Linked DNA regions of Homo sapiens: region 1 is linked to region 2. Evidence: promoter capture Hi-C in 16 types of primary human blood cells and fetal thymus (Javierre and others, 2016). All regions are on one chromosome and are shown on one strand. The core of a region is centred on a gene start or on the middle of the fragment in contact, and the rest is flanking DNA. Distances in the headings are between cores, read along the strand shown.

What was found. The method cuts DNA at HindIII sites, captures the fragments that hold promoters and counts their contacts. A CHiCAGO score of 5 or more calls a contact.
Region 1: a contact is called between a fragment that was not itself captured here and the fragment with the promoter of GLS2 in region 2, in 1 of 17 cell types (M1 macrophages). The highest score is 5.4, in M1 macrophages.

Annotation. Positions count from the first base shown.
Region 1 is chr12:56,616,881-56,622,768 of GRCh38, reverse strand. BAZ2A (bromodomain adjacent to zinc finger domain 2A) reads left to right here. Exons shown (of 29, transcript NM_001300905.2): 2 at 5,237-5,374. The coding sequence starts at 5,239. Among named protein-coding and RNA genes, the nearest start is that of BAZ2A, 11 kb to the left of the region's middle. The HindIII fragment of the contact is 423 bases long and covers 1,346-1,768 here.
Region 2 is chr12:56,486,911-56,492,883 of GRCh38, reverse strand. GLS2 (glutaminase 2) reads left to right here and starts at 4,723. Exons shown (of 18, transcript NM_013267.4): 1 at 4,723-4,947. The coding sequence starts at 4,766. LOC124902944 (a long non-coding RNA gene) reads right to left here. Exons shown (of 2, transcript XR_007063331.1): 1 at 5,932-5,973; 2 at 5,552-5,897. RefSeq lists a silencer at 4,377-4,806 and an enhancer at 4,967-5,186. The HindIII fragment of the contact is 16,217 bases long and covers 2,211-5,973 here.

The sequences.
Region 1 (5,888 bases), core at 308-2,807, 130 kb before region 2:
GACTGGGCTGGGTGCTTGAATGAATGTACTTCCTGGTATGAGAGTCATCTGCTACTCTAGGGGTTGGGCACTGGCTGATTTCTTTTCTCATTTGGTGAAAATCCTATTAGTTCAAAGGGAGATGCTCTCCTTTGCTTTACTGTTCTTACTAGCTCTGGATGGGAGGACAGAGTTTACCTTTAGGGTTTATTGTGAAAAGCATCTTGAGTAGGAAGGTTAAAATGAAATAAACCTAGGTTCATTGTTGAGAGGAGGTGTTCACATGTTTTTCGTATTCCCATACTGTGACATAATTAATTCCCATATTTAAGTGACATCTGAAATCAGGAGTCAAATTGTATATAAGGAAGTCTGGCTGGATCATCCCTAGTTTTAAATTATATTTATTTTATATGTAGACCGTTTAGACCTGATTATCTTTTTTTTTTGGAGATAGAGTGTTGCTCTGTCACCCAGGCTAGAGTGCAATGGTGCGATCTCAGCTCACTGCAACCTCCATCTCCTGGATTCAAGCAATTCTCCTGCCTCAGCCTCCTGAGTAGCTGGGATTACAGGTGCCCGCCACCACGCCCAGCTAATTTTTTGTAATTTTAATAGAGATGGGGTTTCGCCATGTTGGCCAGGCTGGTTTCGAACTCTTGACTTCAGGTGATCCACCCACCTTGGCCTCCCAAAGTGCTGGGATTACAGGCGTGAACCACTGCGCCTGGCCAGGCCTGATTATCTTTTTGAAAACTACACAGTCTTTTACTGTTTGTCTAATAATAGTAGCTAATGTAGTCCTGGTAAGGTGGCTCACGCCTGTAATCCCAGCACTTTGGGAGGTCAAGGTGGGAGAATTGCTTGAGGCCAGGAATTTGAGACCATCATGGGCAACATAGCGAGACCCTGTGTCTACAAAAAAATTTAAAAATTAGCCAGGTGTGGTGGTGAGCACCTGTAGTCCTAGCTACTTGGGAAGCTGAGGCAGGAGGATTACTGGAGCCCAGGAGTTCCAGGCTGCAGTGAGCTATGATCATGCCACTGCACACCACTCTGGATGACAGAGTGAGACTCTGTCTCAAGAAGAAAAAAAAAAAACTAACGTTTATGGAGTGCTTGCTGGATGACAGACACTGTGCTGGGGCTCTAATTTAGATTTTCTCATTTCATCCTCACCAGTCCTTAAAAGTGGGTACAAAAATTGTTACAGATGATGAAACTTAGGCCCAGCAAGTATAAGTAACTTGTCCAAGGTTAAACAGCTAGCTAGTAAATAGTAGAGTTGGGATTTGAACCTAGAGCCCACTACATTGTGCTGACCACATTGCATAGCACAAAGACAATTTTATGTGTCTAGGAAGCTTCTCGTAAATGAAGTGGTTGTGGTTCTGATGACAGTTCAGAAGAGACAGGTGGAGAAACTGATCTCACATACTAAATAACTTCCCATTCTTTTTAATTCTCTGATTTCTGTGAGCCATCGACATGTTGTTATTAATATTTACAAAAACAGGATATGCTGTGCTTTTCCAGAGCAGCAGAGAGGAGGTCACAACTTTGTTCTTGGATTCAAATAGAGAATGGAAAAATGAACCGTGACCCATCATTGAGGAGGATATAGTCCACTGCACATAGGATGGAAGTTGCATGTATCCTCCACACCAGGGGAGGTGTACAAAAAACTGGGGAGAGGAGAGGTGAGGATCAGATGAAATTGGCCCTCTAGGCATAGTATTTCCAGGACTTCTGAAGTGAAGAGTGTCCTCCTTGCTCTGTGGTATAAGCTTTGGAAGGAACCTAACTGGAGACTAAGGAATGAACTTTCCTTTAATTCTTGCACTTAAGAAGGATTATTAATCTCATGATGCTTATCTTTCAGACCCCCTACTGCTGAGGAGTAGCTGTTAACTATACTAGGGAAATCCTGACTGGGCGCAGTGGCTCATGGCTGTAATCCCAGCACATTGGGAGGCCGCGGTGGGTCGATCACTTGAGGTCAGGAATTCAAGACCAGCCTGGCCAACATGGTGTAACCCCGTCTCTACTAAAAAGATAAAAAATTATCTGGGCGTGTTGGCGGGTGCCTGTAATCCCAGCTGCTGGGGAGGCTGAGGCAGGAGAATCGCTTGAACCTGGGAGGTGGAGGTTGCAGTGAGCCGAGATCACACCCTTGCACCCCAGCATGGGCAACAAGAGGGAAACTCTGTCTCAAAAAAAAAAAAAGGAAATCCTGGAGGACCCTGTGTGTTTTGTTTGTTTGTTTGTTTTGTTTTGTTTTGTTTTTTTGAGACAGGGTTTCGCTCTGTCACCCAGGCTGGAATGCAGTGGCATGATCTTGGCTCACTGCAATCTCTGCTTCCCAGGCTCAAACAATCCTCCTGCCTCAGCCTCCCAAGTGGCTGGGACTGCAGCTGCTCACCATCATGCCTGGCTAACCTGGGGTCTTTTCACTATAAAGACTCCATTTTTTCACTGATGCATGGCAGGTTTAGGTCTGCTACTTAATTTAGAGCAAGCTTGTCCAGCCCACCCAGGACAACTTTGAATCTGGCCCAATACCAATTTGTAAACTTTCTTAAAAGATAACATGGAGATTTTCTTGTGATTTTTTTTTTTTTTTTAAAGCTCATCAGCTCTCATTAGTGTATTTTATGTGTGGCCCAAGACACTTCTTCCAGTGTGGTCCAGGGAAGCCAAAAGATTGGACACCCCTATTTAGACTAAAGATGAGATATCCTATATGGGAGATAAGTAAGTCCTAAAAACTTTTTCCCTTAAATCAACAAATGCACATTGCTTTTAGTTTTTAGAGATGGGGTCTTGCTATGGTGCATAGGCTGGACTTGCACTTTTGGGCTCAAGTAATCTTCCTGCCTCATCCTCCTGAGCAACTGAGACTACAGGCAGGAACCACCATGCTCAGCTAACTTTTTTATTTTTTGTGGAGACAGAGCCTTGCTATGTTTCCCAAGCTGGTCTTGATCTCCTGACCTCAAGTGATCTTCCTGCTTCAGCCTCCTGGAGCACTAGGATTACAGGCATGAGCCACCATGCTTGGCCTATTTTTATTTTTAAAATTTCAGTTAAAATTGATTAAGATACAGACAATTCCCACATACTATGCAGGGTTTATATATCATGCTCAGACTTATGTTATATTCACATTTATACTAATGGTGTCTAATTTTAGTAATGTAGCATATTTATGAATGTAACTCTTGCAGACTTTGGCCAGTGGGCATATATATTCTTTTCTTTTCTTTTTTTTTTTTTTTTTTGAGACAGGGTCATGCTCTGTCACCTAGGCTGGAGTGCAGTGGCATGATCATGGTTCACTGCAGCCTCGACCTCCTGGGCTCAAGTGATCCTTCTGCCTTAGCCTCTCGAGTAAGCTAGGACCACAGGTGTGCCCCACCACACCCTGCTCCTTTTTTTTTTTTTGAGATGAAGTCTCGCTCTTGTCCCCCAGGCTGGAGTGCAATGGCATGATCTCCGCTCACTGCAACCTCCGTCTCCCAGGTCCAAGCAATTCTCCTGCCTCAGCCTCCCGAGCAGCTGGGATTACAGGTGCCTGCCACCACGCCCAGCTAATTTTTGTATTTTTTAGTAGAGGTAGGGTTTCACCATGTTGGCCAGGCTGGTCTTGAACTCCTGACCTCAGGTGATCCGCCAGCCTCGGCCTCCCAAAGTGCTGGGATTTCAGGTGTGAGCCACCGTGCCTGGCCTTCACACCCTGCTACTTTTAAAATGTTTTGTAGAGATCGGTTCTCGCCATGTTATCCAGCTTGGTCTTAAACTCTTAGCCTCAAATAGTCCTCCTGCTTTGGCTTCCAAAGTATTGGGATTATAGGTGTGAACCACTATGCCAGGCCTCATCATATATGTACTTAACCAGTGTATTCATTCTTTTTTTTTTGAGATGGAGTTTCACTCTTGTCGCCCAGGCTGGAGTGCAATGGCGCAATTTCAGCTCACTGCAACCTCTGCCTTGCGGGTTCAAGCGATTCTCCTTCCTTAGCCTCCTGAGTAGCTGGGATTACAGGTGCCTGCCACCACACCCAGCTAATTTTTGTATTTTTAGTAGAGACAGGGTATTACCATGTTGGTCAGGCTGGTCTCGAACTCCTGACCTCAGGTGAGCCACCGTACCTGGCCTGAATTCTTCTCTTTTTTAAAATGTAGTAACATAATTCAAGGAGTTGCTTTTTCTGTATCAAGACAGATTATGTTTCTCACATATCAAGTTGGTATGCACTAGGATGTCACAAGAATCCGATTGATATGTTAGAGTTTACCAATAATTCTGGCTTCTGCTTGCTTTCTTTCCTTTCCTCTGTCAAAGTTAAATTCATTCTGATCAAGGGCTTCTTATCATTCTTAGTAGTATTCAGAAAGGGTGAAAAACTTTTTAGCCATACCTCAATGAGCCATTGCACTTTACAAATATAAGTATCTTGCTATTTTATTTTCCCTGTGACCGTTTCTTTATATTTAAGCCACAAAACTAAAACATTAGGAAATAACCATAATAGACATAACAGAATAATATTTTTTGGGATACCCTCATATTTAATCAATTTTCCACTGCTGACATTTTTCTGACCTGTGTTCTTGGGGAGCATAAAGAGTAGAAGTATTGCTGGATGATTCGAGGTTTGCCATTATGATCACCTTCCTGAAATGTATTCTCCTTTTCAAATCCCTTTACTAATGTAACTACTATCTTGAGATATCTAGGGCTATGGATAGGATAATTAGAAATTATGTTTAGCTCAAGTTTAATAATGAAACAAAGAGTGTTTATCAAATATGCTTTTCTGTCAAAAAGATGGCTTTGAGAACCTTTTGTGGGCCTGGGAGGGAGACTTTACCTTGGGGATAAAAACAAAAGGATGGAGAATGTTAAGTGGTACAGTAGAGGCTAATATCTAATATAGAAGGGTAACCTGGGCTGAGTGGGGCTTACACAGAGGGAAGACTCCTCCAGGTTTGTATCTTGGTTTTTCTCGCTAACTTGCTTTGTTTTTTAATCTACAAAGCTGGCTTTAAAAGACTGTTTTCATAGGTTCATTGCTCAGGCTAGAGGCATATTTTCTCCTTCTCTTTTCTTATTCTGTACCTTCCCTCACACAGTACTTAGGTAGGAGAAGGGTAAGTAGGTGGAGGGGAGGGGTCATTGCCCCTGGAAGATTCCAGGTGACATAACCTTGTTTAACCGCCAGTATTTTTTTTCCCTCTCTCTCCCCTCCTGCAGAAATGGAGGCAAACGACCATTTTAACTTTACTGGCCTTCCCCCTGCACCTGCTGCCTCAGGACTGAAACCCTCTCCTTCCTCAGGGGAGGGCCTCTACACTAACGGGTCTCCCATGAACTTCCCCCAGCAAGGGAAAAGTGAGTGTGAGGGCTGCTTGGCCTGGGGAGGGAATGGGCATCATCCCTTTAGGGCAGATTCATGGGGGGATATTTTGCTCTACTTTGCTGCTGGAGAGAAATCAACTTCTAAGAACAAGTTCTAGGGTTTTTTGGAAACATTTTTTGTATTGATTTAAGGTTGGAAGAGATTAGAAAAACCCACTGGCTTTTTCATCTTAGCCTGTTCTTCTGTCAGCCCTGTTCCCCTGGCTGCTGACAGAGCAGTGAAGTGGCTACTGCTGCTGATAACCCATGAGAGAGATAAAGTGCTAGCCTTCTAAGAAGCTGTTTTTAGAGGTTAGGGAAGCTACACTGGGCCAGGACTGAGAGTTGAATGAAGGTTGCAGTGTATTTATTGCCTTTTAGTTTGTACATCAGAGAAAGGCAGATGCTAGAAGTACTTATTCCACCTTCTGTCCTTGGATGGAAGGTAGGGACAAGGGAAAGTTTAATGCTTACCTAGTTCCCCCAGAGAGAAGTTCATAATTCCATA
Region 2 (5,973 bases), core at 3,474-5,973:
TTGGAGAAGGGAAAAAAGAAAAAAGAAAATGCTATCAAGCAAACCCCGAAGGTATTTTCTTCTTGCTGTGTTGGCAAAGGCTTTCAAATTCCTTCAAATTAGCTTTCGCCTACAGACTTTTCTAAATCCTTTTTAGGAATTCTAGCAAAATCTACATTATTTTAGTATATTTTGTTGATTAAGACTTGCTAGAATCTACTTTAATAGCTATTGGAGAACCCAGATTATACAAGATATTATTTGGAAAAATAGAGAAAATGCATGTTAGGCATCGTAAATGGACCAGTGTGATGATATGTTTTTTAATAGGCTTATATTTATATTTTTTCAGTCCTATAAATGTTCATTTTGTTATTGCTAAACCAAAGAAGAATTAGGAAAGCACACTGGAGTAGATCACAGACACGCTTAAACTTTTATTAAATTTCATTTACTCCATGAAAGTCTAGCATCAAGTTAAAACATGCATCCCATACCTACATCCTCAGTTTCATTGGTCCCCATTCTTTTTTTTTTTTTTTTTTTTTTTTTTGAGATGGAGTCTCGCTGTCACCCAGGCTGGAGTGCAGTGGCGCGATCTTGGCTCACTGCAACCTCTGCCTCCCAGGTTCAACTGATTCTCCTGCCTCAGCCTCCTGAGTAGCTGAGATTACAGGTGCATGCCACCACGCCTGGCTAATTTTTGTATTTTCAGTAGAGATGGGGTTTCACCGTGTTGGTCAGGCTGGTCTCGAACTCCTGACCTTGTGATCTGCCCACCTCAGTCTCCCAAAGTGCTGGGATTACAGGCATAAGCCACCACGCCCGGCTGGTCCACATTCTTATACCCACGTTTCATTCCAACCAAACTAGAGGTAGAGTCCCTCAAATGTTCCTCTCAGGCTATGTTTATTCTTGTAGAGCCCTCTGTCTGAAACACCTCTCGTGCTTTAAAAACCAGCTCCTGTCAGTCACCATTCCTCTTCTATCCCAGTGGCCCTTCACCCCCAGCTTAGTTAGATGTCCCCTTTATACTTTCTTCTGCATGTCTCTACATCACAGCATTTTTCATTAGGAATTTTAAACATAAGCTTTCTCATTTCTCCCAGTAGAAACTGGTTTATTAAATTTTTAAATTTCTGGATTTTCCAGCACTGGACCTGGCACACTGAATGCCAACAAATAAATATTAATTGAGTGAATGGAAGCTCATTATGTCAGAGCCCCAAGTACTTACATTTTACCCAGTAAAATACAAGTTTATCTTTTACAAATGGAGAAACTAAGGCAGAAAGGAGTTTGTAACAATAGTATCATTAACAAAGATTAATAAAAAAATGAACTAATCTTTTACTTGGACCAATTAACATCCTAGCTACAGTCTAAAGAGTAGAACAGGCCAGGTGCGGTGGCTCACACCTGCAATCCTAGCACTTTGAGAGGCTGAGGCGGGCAAATCAAGGGGTCAGGAGTTCGAGACCAGCCTGGCCAACATAGTGAAACTCCGTCACTACTAAAAATACGAAAATTAGCCGAGCATATTGGCGGGTGCCTGTAATCCCAGCTATTCGGAAGGCTGAGGCAGGAGAATTGCTTGAACCCGGGAGGCGGATGTTGCAGTGAGCCAAGATCACACCATTGCACTCCAGCATGGACGACAGAGCGAGACTCCATCACACACACACACACACACACACACACACACACACACAAAATAGAGTAGAACAAATGAGTCTCTAAATCATAAGAAATAAACAAACTCCAAACATCAATTTCCTATCACAGAGGATTAGCTTTTCCTTCTTTCTTTCTTTTCTTTTTTTTTTTTTGTTTGAGACGGAGTTTTGCTCTTGTTGCCCGGGCTGGAGTGCAATGGCGTGATCTCAGCTCACCGCAACCTCCGCCTCCCAGATTCAAGCAATTCTCCTGCCTCAGCCTCCTGAGCAGCTGGGATTACAGGCATGAGCCACCGCGCCCGGCCCGGATTTAGCTTTTATTAAGGATTCAAAATCATTAAGTCTAATCCTCTCTCACATACCACAAAACTCTGGCACAGCCATGGACTAACCTAAAAGCCCACTGTTAGAGACACAAAGAACTTTCTTTCAGTTATGAAAATCTTCATTTCTAGCTGCCCTTGTCATAGTTGGCTAATAGTTTTGCACAAATTAAACTAGATGATGAGTATTTTTCAAATTAGAAACAAAAAGAGGACCTGACCCTGCCAAGCTTTAACCACCTGGGACAACAAACTTGTTCTTCTCCAGCATCTTATACTTTACACAGTACCATTGGCCTCCCAAGTCACCAGTTCATGCTCCATCCTCATGCAAAGACAGCAATATTGTATTGGAGACAGTTAGTCCAAAGGTCCAAGTGCAGCTGGAGCTAGTTCTCTAAGCAAAGAACCTCTGCTTCCATGCATAGATCTTCTTCACTACCCAACCAGTTCCTATTAGTGGAAGAGTGCTGGGAGAAAGAGAGTAAGGAACTCATTAGAGTATAAAGCTAATTCAAAGAGGCAGAAATAGGAAAAAAAGGAAGCAAATTACTTCTGGGTAATGTTTAGAAATTCCCTAACAGATGGTATTTTTCTCTTGAATAGATCAAAACGTTTCAGATAAATCATATTTCTATGAAACAAGGATAAGATTCGTCTGTTACGTATGAAAAAAACTAATGCAGGATTGAGTTTACGTTAAGTATTGAGACCCAGAACTCTGCCTCTTGGGCAAAGCCAAGCATAAAGCAGCAAGCCCTCCCAGAATTAGACGGCTTTCCACGGACAGGAGAACAGATACAGCAGACACAGAATGACTACAGAAGGCGAAAACAAGCAAAAACAAATGTCACTCCATCTGGTTTTAAGCCAAATAAGCCCTCCAACCCTAACCAAGGCAAAGGAGAACTGCCTTTCCACAGAACACACCTGACTGGTTTCAGTACTTGTTTTCCCACGAGTACCCTTGAAACTCATTTTAATCCAAAAATGAAAACTATGGGACAAGCACGGTGGCTCATGCCTGTAATCCCAGCACTTGTGGGAGGCTGAGGCGGGCGGATCATCTGAGGTCAGGAGTTTGAGACCAGCCTGACCGATATGGCGAAACCACATCTTTACTAAATACAAAAAATTAGCTGGGCGAGGTAGCAGGCGCCTGTAATCCCAGCTACTAGGGAGGCTGAGGCAGGAGAATCGCATGAACCCAGGAGGCGGAGGTTGCAGTGAGTCGAGATTGCGCCATTGCACTCCAGCTAGGGCAACAAGAGCAAAACTTCGTCTCAAAAACAAACAAACAAAAACTAGTATTTTGTGATACAGCCAGAACTATCACAAGGAAAAGACTCCCAGTACTGTATCATAATACTTCCACATAAAATACCTCCTTTAGGGATGGGGTCATTTCTCCCGGGATAATTCAATTCAATGCTTAATTTTTGAGAAGGGCTGCATGAAGGAGAGACTTGTAGTTAAAAAAAAAAAACGGGTCTAATTTCTGGTTCTGGTACTTACTAGCTGGGTTACCTTATGCGAGAATTCTTAATTTCCTAGTCTTAGTTTCCTCACCTTCAAATTGAGACTAATAACTACTTTGTAGGTCTCTGGTAAGAGGGAGAGAGAAACTAAGCGGTTGGAACACCATGGGCACTCAATAATAGCTATCATTTACATAATGAGTCCCTACTAAATATGGATGCTGGGTTAGGCGCTGCCGAGATACAAGGTGAAAGTTCTAGCTGCAAATGGCAAAAGTCCTGAATGTTCTTGGATTTCAAAATGCTTTTTGTATATCGCCTCTTTTCTGCCCGTGAGGAGGACAAGGGCAAACAATTAAAATAGGAAAAATGTGGGGAGCACTTCATGGTTTATAAAACGTTTTTCTGCGTGCCAACTTATTTTAATGTCTTAACTTTCCAGATTTGAAAACAAGTCCTACACCAAATAAATGGTAGAGGGACACAAACTGGAACCCAGGCTTCCTAACCGCCAGAGCGACCTTCCCGCCGCCCAATGCCTCCCTGAGGTGCTGGTCGGCTGCTTCTGCCCGGGGTACCCAGCAGTCATCCTACTCTCCACTCAGCACCACCGCACGTCGGCCGCGCGCCACGCTACCCGCCGGGTTACTGGGCGCTGGTTTGGCCTTCGGAGGTCGAGGCTCTCTGAGTGACCTCCTGAACTGGGCTCACTCTTACTTAGCCTCCTCTCTCGAGGCAGCACCCTCCTCTCTACACGACAACTCCATCATTCGCAGCCCCACGGTGTTCCCGGGGAGCGCCTCCCGCCCCCACCGGCTTCGCCTCAGCTTGTCCTCGCCTTTCCCGCCCTCAGCATCCGCGGATACCCGCGCTCGCCGGGCCCACGCGGAAGCATCCGCAGACTGTCGCAAGGTCCCACCGTCTTGCTCTCATTGGGCAACCTTACCCTTTCCCCGCCTCAATGTTTTTGCTTCCTCAGTGATTGGACCTGGGCATTGTCCATTCCAGCTCCCAGGCACCGCCCTCTCTCCACCCACTAGAAAGCCACCCGGGTTCTCCTTCATCCCCAACGCTCCTCACCTAGCCCCTGTCCTGAGGGTGCCCCTAACCCTGGAGCCAGCTTTAAAGGGGCAGGCCCCTTCTCCTGCCCCAGCCCCAGCCCCACCCACCGGGCCCACATTCTCCGTCTTCCAGGTCCAGCGCTCCCTCACAGAACTCCCCCGCACCTTGTCTCGCTCGCTCCGCCCCTCCTTCCCAGCCACAGCTAGAGGTCCCGGGCGCACCTGCAGAGCCGGAGGCTTGCTGGGGCATGCGCTCCATGAAGGCTCTGCAGAAGGCCCTGAGCCGGGCTGGCAGTCACTGCGGGCGAGGAGGCTGGGGTCACCCGAGCCGGAGCCCCCTCCTTGGCGGGGGCGTCCGGCACCACCTCAGTGAGGCCGCGGCGCAGGGCAGAGAGACGCCACACAGCCACCAGCCGCAGCACCAGGATCAGTAAGGCTCCTGGGACAGGGCAGGGGACGGGCTTGCCCCCACTCCCACTGTGGTTCTCGCTAGTTCCCGAGTGCCCTTCCAAGGCAGCGCCGCTCATCTCCCCTCTCCTCGCTCACTAGCCCTCGGTGCCTTTTCCTTTGGATGTGGGGCTTTGGGTGCGCCGCGCTCGGGCGGTAATCTGCCGTCTGCCTAGGAGTGCGTTCGGGCAAGCGGGTCCTGGGGATGGCGCCTGTCCAAGGTGCGCACTTAACCCGGATCACAGATGCGCGCCGAGTGTTGCTTGGCTCACGTGTCTGAGTGCAGGGCCGGGCTCACGCCGCCAGTCCTCACCTTCCCTAGTCCTCGTGTGTATTTTAGGAGATGCGTGGATGTGGAACAGCCTCCTGCCTCCGGTCCAGGTGTACTGGGGTCTGTGTGTTGTGTTTCTGCGTGTTCTCGGCAGGTAATGTGTGATGCGCGTGTATTATTGGTGCGCAGGTACGTCCATAAGTGTTGGGTGTGTGCGTAGCAGTGCTCCCTGAACAGCAGAATGGGGGGGAATTTCCAAACTGGTTGTTGAATGGGGAGAATATTTGTAATGGAGGAAAGGTCTTTAAGACGCAGATTTCCCAAACCAGAGCCAGTCAGAGCCTTTATTTGTGCTGCCCAGGCTCCAGAATCTAAAACGTTCTCTTCCTTTGGGTGTTTCTTCCACCCAGGATGCCAAACCTTTATCTTCCCCACCGCCTAGGACACACTTGGTGGCTGAGCCTTTTTCTCTGAGACCCAGACGGTGCTGAGCAGGAAATCTTGTCCTCCCCAGAGGGCCAGCATAGACACTGTCCAAAGAGCCCCTGCTCTACTGTAGCAGGAACAGGAAATGGGCCATCTCCCTCGTCGCTGCCATCTCCCTGATGACACTCAGAAACATGGACACCATCAGTAAAGTAGCCAGACTGACACAACACTACCTCACCACTACTCGAGTCTCTGACACAACACTACCTCACCACTACTCGAGTCTCTGTCGTAAGGGACACCAATAGG